3 separate regions of the Homo sapiens genome follow, and regions 2 and 3 are each linked to region 1. The links are contacts of gene promoters, found by promoter capture Hi-C in human tissues and cell types (Jung and others, 2019). All regions are on one chromosome and are shown on one strand. Each heading gives the region's core, a stretch centred on a gene start or on the middle of the fragment in contact. The rest is flanking DNA. Distances are from core to core; before and after follow the strand shown.

Region 1 (2,700 bases), core at 28-2,527:
CTGCACTCCAGCCTGTGTGACAGAGTAAGACCCTGTCTCAAAAAATATAAAGTATTTAACCAACAAACATACTCACACATGCGCAGAAGACGCTGCTCCTGCAGACTGGCTTCTTCACTGTTTCCTAAACACATCAGGCATACTCCCAAAGAGGGCTTTGCCTGCACTTACCTTCTAACCTACTTCTTCTACTCTACAATGTACTCATTCAGTACACCTGTGGTTGATTGTCCACGTTCTCACTTAGAATGTAACAGGACATAGACTGTAAAAGACAGATTTGTTTTGTTCAGTGATGTATCTCAAACACACTGAACAGAGCCTGGCACACAGAGATGCTGAATAAGTATTTGTTAAATCAATCCTCAAAGTATTCGTTGCAGCATTATTGAAAACAACGGATTGGACATGACCTAAATGACTAAGTGAATACAGCACTAGCACACAGACGTGAAAAAGACTGAGGTAGAGGAATGTGAAATGATCTCCAAGATACACGGTGCAGAAGAGTGTGTTTAGCAGGCTACTATTTGTACAAAAAAAGGGTAAAAAGTCGTGTGTGCACGGATATAAACAATCTTTCTGTAAGAATGCAAACTGGGGCTGGGAGGAAACCTTGCTTCATTTACATTGCGTACCACTGTATATTACATACCCATCACATACACATGAGCCTGTGTTGCTGTTCAGTGGTAAGAAATCATTTAAAAATAGAAAAAAGAAGGAAGGAGGGAAGAGAGAAAGAAAGAAAAGGAATAAAAACCAAGCAGGGGAAGAGCCAGGGACCATTTGGTCAGCCTGCAATCCTCCCAAAGTGCGACAAGGGAGTTGAGGTCGGAGGTGGGGCGCGTGGGGGAGGAATCCGACCACCAGCTGTGTGCCTTCGATGAGCTTTCAACAAGGGTAACAGCAAGCTGCTCAAGACTGTAGGAAACACAGGGCTTCGCCGCGACCACGGTCAAGACGGCACCGGGCCTTGGGAACAACGTGAACAGAATCACCCAGGAAGCCGCGGGAGCGCGCGAACACGGGAGAAGGGAAGCAGGTTGCCACAGAAGAGCAACCCGAGCGGGGCCTCAGGGCAGTCGCACACACGAGGTTCCGAGCCCCCGGTGTCAGCGGCATCCCAGGGCCCCTCCCGTGTTCGGAAATCGCCGCAGCCTGTGGGAGAGCCACTCACCCCTTGCAGCGGCCGGGAATTCTCGTAACTCGCTCCGCACGGCTTCCAAAGCCGCCTCCGCCATGGCTGCGTCAGCGCCGGCCGAGACCCCGCCTTTCCCCGACGCCCCGCCGCAGGCCACACCCCAAGCACTCGCCCCGCCCTCCCCAGAGTCCCCGCCGCAGGCCACACCCCCAGACCCTCGCCCCGCCCTTCCAGAGGCACCCGCCGCAGGCCACACCCCCAGCACCCCGCCCCGTCCTGCCCCTGGACACACACCGGGTTCTGCCACCGAAGCGGTGGAGCGACTGGCAGCGCCCGCTTCGGCCTGCCCCACTGGCCGGCATCCCAGGGTTAACAAACAATTGTGTTTATTGACAAGTTCATACATCAGTACAAACGGGCACGTTAAAAACAGCGCCCCCGCCCCATGCAGCCGAGGATGAGGCAGGAAGCGCCGCGACCTGCACAAAGTATAAAAGTTATAAATAAGGGGCTTTCAAAACAAGGCGGGGGCAAATCTGGAGTGGGGCGGCGGTTGCCGGTGGCCTCAGACATGCAGAAGGGGACGGGGCGCCGGCCGGGCCACGAGGCCCCCCACCCACATGGGGCAGAGGGCAGGAAAAGGGCGGCCACATTCTCACAAACTTCTGGCGAAGGGTAGCTCCCTCCTCGTGAAGGACCTGGCCCAGAGGGCGAACCTGAGTCCCACCTGCGGTGGGCGCGGCTGGTGTGGGAAGTCGGGGCACAGCAGGCACGGGCCCGCCCCCGCCGCCGCGGGAGTTCCAGGGCCATGCGGGTGGCGATGCTAGAGGAGTGGGGAAGGGCCAGGTTTGGAGCAGCTCAAGCGCACTCAGGCTGATGCCCCGGAGCTGGGAACCTTTTGTAACCCTTTTTCTTTTTTTTTTTTGAGATGGCGTGTAGCTTTGTCACCTAGGTTGGAGTGCAATGGCGCGATCTCGGCTCACTGCAACCTCCACCTCCACCTCCAGGGTTCAAGCGATTCTCCTGCCTAAACCTCCCGAGTAGCTGGGATTACAGGCGCCCACCACCACGCCCAGCTAATTTTTTTATTTTTAGTAGACAGGGTTTCACCATGTTGGCCAGGCTGATCTCGAACTCCTAACCTCAGGTGATCCACCCGCCTCGGCCTCCCAAAGTGCTGGGATTACAGGCTTGAGCCACCACACCTGGCCCAGAACCCATTTCTTTATAAGCCTCTGCCTATGGCGCAGCAGGGCGGGTGAAGGGGCTCTCGTGGCCTGAAGCTGTGGTAAAGCTGCTCTGACTTACCTGCAGCAGAGGGGAGCAGTAGGGCCCAGAAAAACCTTTCCTCAACTCTTCAACTGCCTCACGACATGGTCCCACTCTACCTCCTAGGGTCCCCTATCTCCTTTCCCTCACCCCTAATTACTGCCCTTTTACATTCTAACTTATCCCCTCACCTCTGCCACTTACCTGTCCCATCTACCACTTTTCTAGTGTCTCCTTTGGCCCCAGCACCTCCCTCCTCTCAAACTCCAGTATCCAGCACACCCGTG
Region 2 (2,700 bases), core at 44-2,543, 71 kb after region 1:
AACCAAACAAACTGCACTATGATTTTTTAAAGGAACCAAATGCCACCCTCTACTTCAACCCAACCCCCATCATTGTCTTTTTTTAATCTTTTAAATTAAGATAGAAAAACAAGTGGAAAACAATTTAAACAAACCAAACTCTCCTCCATGCCTACTGTTGGTTAGGATAAACAAAAAACCCTGCTTAATTATGTTACTATGATATAAACCAAAAAGATTAAGAAAATTAAAGGTTTATTTTTTCATGGATCCCTAACTGCTAGCCATTTTGCAGAGCATAGTTTTTTAAATCACTTAAAATCATGAGCCCAAGCAAGAAAGAATGGCACCTTGTTTTACATCAGACCATTACAAGAACAGTTTTCAAATAACCACATATATTCTCATAAATTTCATATCCATTTTTAACTCCTCTACATTAGTCTATCCTCTGAGGAGAAGAATTAAAAGGGAAAAAAAGGACATTAGCAGTATAATTTGATTAAGGAGAAAAAACTGATTATATTAACTCACTGGCAAAAATAGCCCTGAGAAAAAATCGTGGCTAATATAGCTAATGTTGTTTCAACCCTAAGATAAATGTTAACAATTTTATTCAATGAGTAATTATCACTAAATATATCCTAAATACCTTTCGACTCCTTTCAGCTGCTTTTTCATCTGCAGAGATGTGAGTACAGGACCTGGATAAAGACAGGATTTTTCAGTGTCTTACTGAAATTTAATAATCTAAGACCTATTTCACAGCTACAACCAAACCATTCCAAATTACAACCAGTTTCTTTTTCCCAAGGTGTGATATATGGCCACATTATTTACTTGACATTATATATTTTCTCTAAAAGTGTACAAATAGTCACTAAAACTTCAAATTACTTTGTACAATCATGAAATATTTAATATACAAAACCATATAAACAAATTTAAAGTTGTCCTTCAGTATCCAGGGAAGACTCGTTCCAAAACTTCCAGCAGTATCTTTGAATACTCAAGTCCCTGATATAAAATGGCATAGTATTTGCATATAACATAGGCACCTCCTCCTGTATACTATAAATCATCCCTACATTACTTATAACACCTAGTACAATGTAAAAACTAAGTAAACAGTTGTTATACTGTATTGTTTAGGGAATAATGACATGAAAATAAAGTCTATACATGTTCAATACAGATGCAATTTTTCTTCTTCCAAGTATTTCCAATCCACAGTTGGGTGAATCCACAAATACATGCTTTCTATATTTGTGGATACATGCTTTTCCATTATAAACTTGGTCTTCCCATCCGTGAAGGAGGACCAAGCGTATAATGAACACCCACATATGAACCATCTAGCTTGAGAAATAATACATCTCAAAAATACAGAAGGTTCTATGTGCAGTCTACTCAATCACATTCCCTTCCTTCCTTCTCAAAAGTAACCATTCTAAGACAGAGTTTACCATGCACACTTTTGTAAGTCTTACTAGAAATATATATATATATATCTAAACAAAAAAAGTACCACTTTAAATATTATATACTATACTATATCTTTCTGCAACTCATTTGTTTCATTCAATATTCCACCTGAAGGCCAGGCACAGTAGCTAATGCCTGTAATCCCAGAACTTTAGGAGGCCAAGGCACGAGGACTGGTTGAGGCCAGGAGTTCAAAATTAGCCTGGCCAACATAGCAAGACTCCGTCTCTACAAAAAATATCGAAAATAAAAGTACAAATAAATTACACCTGAGATATGTTGATACGCAGAGTTCCAATTCCAATTGTTTTAATTGTTATATAGTTATATAGTATTCCACAATGTGAATTTCCCCGAATTTTTTTTTCAGAATGTTAGTAGTTATTTAGGTTGTTTCTAAATCTTCATAATAGCAAACAATGCTGCAATGGACAGTCCCATACACGACCCCTTGTGAAAATTTTTCTGGGGCATAGGAGCAGAGGAAAGATATGCACACCTTCAACTTCAGTAACTGTTAAACTGGTAATAACAATGTACACTCCCACTTGCAGTATGCGAGTTCCCATTGCTCCACACCTAGATAACTGTACCACCAGAAATCTCCACTTTTGAAGTCTTATGGGTGTGAATTGGTAAAGTCACTGTGGTTTTATCTGTATTTCCTTAATTACTTGTGAGGCTGAACAAATGTACATGTGTTTGCTGGGCTTTTAGGTTTCTTCTTCTTCTGTCAACTGTCTCTAATATCCATTACTTTTCTACTGGGTCATCTTTTTCTTACTGACTTGTAACAATTTTTTTATACCCTTGACACTAATCCTTTGTTAGTTAATACGTATGGCAAACACTTTCTTCATATCTGAGTTTGGCTTTTCACTGTTTTCACGGTGTTCTGACAGAATTTTTCAATTCTTTTAACTTGTATTTTTAATTAAATTTAAACAATTAATTTAAACAAATCTAATTAAATCTTTAATTTTTTTTTTTGAGATGGAGTCTCACTGTGTCTCAGGCTGGAGTACAGTGGCACAGTCTCAGCTCACTGCAACCTCCACCTCCCAGGTTCAAGCAATCCTCCTGCCTTAGCCTCCCGAGTAGCTGGGACTACAGGCGTGTGCCAACAAGCCCGGCTAATTTGCATATTTTTAGTAGAGACAGGGTTTCGCCATGTTGGCCCGCCTGGTCTTGAACTCCTGAATTCAGGTGATCCACCCACCTCGGCCTCCCAAAGTG
Region 3 (2,700 bases), core at 69-2,568, 93 kb after region 1:
AAGAAAAAGTTCCAGAGAATAAGACTACAATAGTCCTCATTATCCTGCTGACTGGGCTCTAACAGGTAGTTCCCTTAACACTACTCTAAATGCCACAATTATTACATTAGAGTTAGCTTGCAAACAAACCATGACCTACAACCAAGGTTAAGCTTCACTGGTATAGGTTACTATTTTGCTATACATACAGGCAAAGTGAAACTACTTGCTAGATGCTTTGAAACATGTACAGATTAGAGTCAATCCAAAAGAACAGCAAGAAAAATAGTATTCTGATTTTTTTTTTTTTTTGAGACGGAGTCTAGCTCTGTCGCCAGGCTGGAGTGCAGAGGCGTGATAGCTCACTGCAACCTCTGCCTCCCAGGTTCAAGTGGTTCTCCTGCCTCAGCCTCCCGAGTAGCTGAGATTATGGACGCGTGCCACCACGCCCAGTTAATTTTTGTATTTTTACTAGAGACGGGGTTTCACCATGTTGGCCAGGATGGTCTTGGATCTCTTGACCTCATGATCCACCCGCCTCGGCCTCCCAAAGTGCTGGGATTACAGGCGTGAGCCACTGCGCCCAGCTGTAGTATTCTGATTTTAAGTGCACTCTAACTCTAATTTCTACTGCAAATACCTCTGAATTACTTCTGTGCTTCTAGATATGATTGCTCCATTTCTACACTGTTTGCAGATCACTCAACTACCCAAAGTATTCTTTCCATGGCAACATGTTGACTAGACATGTATTTCACTAGACTCCTGGATTTCTTTAGCACAGCTTCCCAATGAGTGTACTGGTATGTCAAGGGCCCCCATAATCCTCAGGGTGCTCACGCTCTCAGGCAGGTTCCCTCCACCCTAGTAGCCTCCTCCACTTACCGCAATGTGCTATAGAAACATTGTTAATTATTTGTATGTACCATGACGTTTTTTAAGAAGTTAGGAAGCCCTGCTGCTTAAGTGTCAGAAGTCTCGGGAAGCATAACCAAAAACAAATTGGTAACCACCTGACCACTACCTGTCATCAAAGTAATTCTGACAGTAGCCTCTGCCAGCTAAATCACAGTAATATTCCTTCCTTTCTCCTTCTAGATTTCCCCAGAGGTGGCAGTGATGGAGGACCAAAGGCTAATGATGCCAATATTACTGGGGTTTGGAAAGAGGTTAAAAAAAAAAAAACTCACTGACCTCAACCTAAATGTCTCTTGCAACAACATGCTTTATCAACATGAATGAATTTTCTTTTATTTTTGAGAGCAGGAGTGTTAACAGACCAAATAATGGGGAAAAAAAACTTTTACTTATTGTCCCTGTTTTTGGCATAAGTTTGAAACAGGGTAGGCAGACATATTCTGAATTGATGGTTTGGGTTTTCTCCCATTATTACTATAATCTAGACCTAAATAATTTTTATCAAATGTTAAGATCTAGTTTTCATTCTGACCTTGTAATTTATCAGAATCATCCTCCAAGTCACAGGTGAGTTGTTTTAAGGGCTGCTGTTCAGAATCAGGTTCCTGAAGGAGACAGTAACACAGAAATACTTTAACTTAACATATATTCAATACCCACAGAAACTTGGACACAAGCATTAAATCTCTCACAGAAGTTTAAATCATTAGAATGACTGAAATGTCAACAGCTTCAATCCACATGCACATCTACGTTACTATCATATAAAACCCTGGGTAAAAACACATAGTTTTGCTACCTAATGTCCTTGATAGTGACTGAGTCATCAAGAAAAAAATTCACATTGTACTTTAAAGAGGGAAACATATTTACTGTTAAATGAAACAAACTACAGTTATTCAGAAAATTCACCAGTTGAGGCCAGTCTCGGTGGCTCATGCCTGCAATCCCAGCATTCCGAGAGGCCGAGGTGGGAAGATCACTTGAGCCCAGGAGTTCAAACCAGCCTGGCCAACAAGGCAAAACCCCATCTATACCAAAAATACAAAAGCTTAGCCACAAATGGTGGCACACACCTATAGTCCCAGTTGGTTGGGAGGCTGAGACAGAAGGATCGCTTGAGCTGAAGGTTGCAGTGAGCCGAGACCATGCCACTGCACTTCAGCCTGGGTGACAGAGTGAGGCCCTATCTCGAAAAAAAAAAGAAAGAAACAAAATTTGCCAATGTGGAAAGATGCACACCCTAATAATTACAGACAAATTAATAAAACTAGAATTTTTAAAATTACTCCAGGATCAGAAAGAATAATACTTTTTAATTTATCAAATCCTCTATTAACAGGCATTCTGCCTCCAATTTCTCATTAGTAAGGGCAATAGTGCACTGAACAGCTATATATATGCGTATGTTTGAGTAAACATACATACATGCACATATCTTTGTGCCCTCATGCTATGTACACTTACAATTTAGGGTCAAAAAGATATGCACATTTAAATTTTTTTGTTTTTGTCATTAACAAATTGCTGTTTAAAAGAAAACTGCTGATTTATACCTTTAGTGGTTTTCCGGGGAGTCACCACTGATGTTGAGGTGGCAGTACAAGCGAAGGTGGAGCCCCCAGCCATCAGCTGAACCATGGAAAGGGAAGAGGTGTAGCCTAACTACAAGGGTAACTGGAATCAGAACTTATTATTTAAATTATCTGTGAATGTGTGCCTCAGTTTCTCATATAATCCTCCATGGGTTGGACAGACTGCCACCTAGACTCTTTTATCATTCCACTTTCACTAATCAGGAGA

The links. The method cuts DNA at HindIII sites, captures the fragments that hold promoters and counts their contacts. A contact is called where the count stands out against the background at its distance.
Region 2: a fragment that was not itself captured here is called in contact with the fragment with the promoter of JMJD7 in region 1 in 3 of the 25 tissues and cell types used here (aorta, lymphoblastoid cells and mesenchymal stem cells).
Region 3: a contact is called between a fragment that was not itself captured here and the fragment with the promoter of JMJD7 in region 1, in 3 of the 25 tissues and cell types used here (H1 embryonic stem cells, lymphoblastoid cells and mesenchymal stem cells).

The regions. Positions count from the first base shown.
Region 1 is chr15:41,826,669-41,829,368 of GRCh38, reverse strand. It overlaps JMJD7 (jumonji domain containing 7), which reads right to left and starts at 1,277. Exons shown (of 8, transcript NM_001114632.2): 1 at 1,181-1,277. The coding sequence starts at 1,244. It overlaps MAPKBP1 (mitogen-activated protein kinase binding protein 1), which reads right to left. Exons shown (of 31, transcript NM_014994.3): 31 at 1,514-2,700. JMJD7-PLA2G4B (JMJD7-PLA2G4B readthrough) reads right to left here and starts at 1,277. Exons shown (of 25, transcript NM_005090.4): 1 at 1,181-1,277. The coding sequence starts at 1,244. RefSeq lists a silencer at 1,300-1,389 and enhancers at 1,124-1,418, 1,450-1,679. The HindIII fragment of the contact is 30,158 bases long and covers 1-2,700 here.
Region 2 is chr15:41,755,771-41,758,470 of GRCh38, reverse strand. MGA (MAX dimerization protein MGA) reads right to left here. Exons shown (of 24, transcript NM_001400225.1): 19 at 632-683. Among named protein-coding and RNA genes, the nearest start is that of MAPKBP1, 17 kb to the left of the region's middle. The HindIII fragment of the contact is 4,374 bases long and covers 1-2,700 here.
Region 3 is chr15:41,733,324-41,736,023 of GRCh38, reverse strand. It overlaps MGA (MAX dimerization protein MGA), which reads right to left. Exons shown (of 24, transcript NM_001400225.1): 12 at 1,430-1,502. Among named protein-coding and RNA genes, the nearest start is that of MAPKBP1, 40 kb to the left of the region's middle. The HindIII fragment of the contact is 3,107 bases long and covers 1-2,700 here.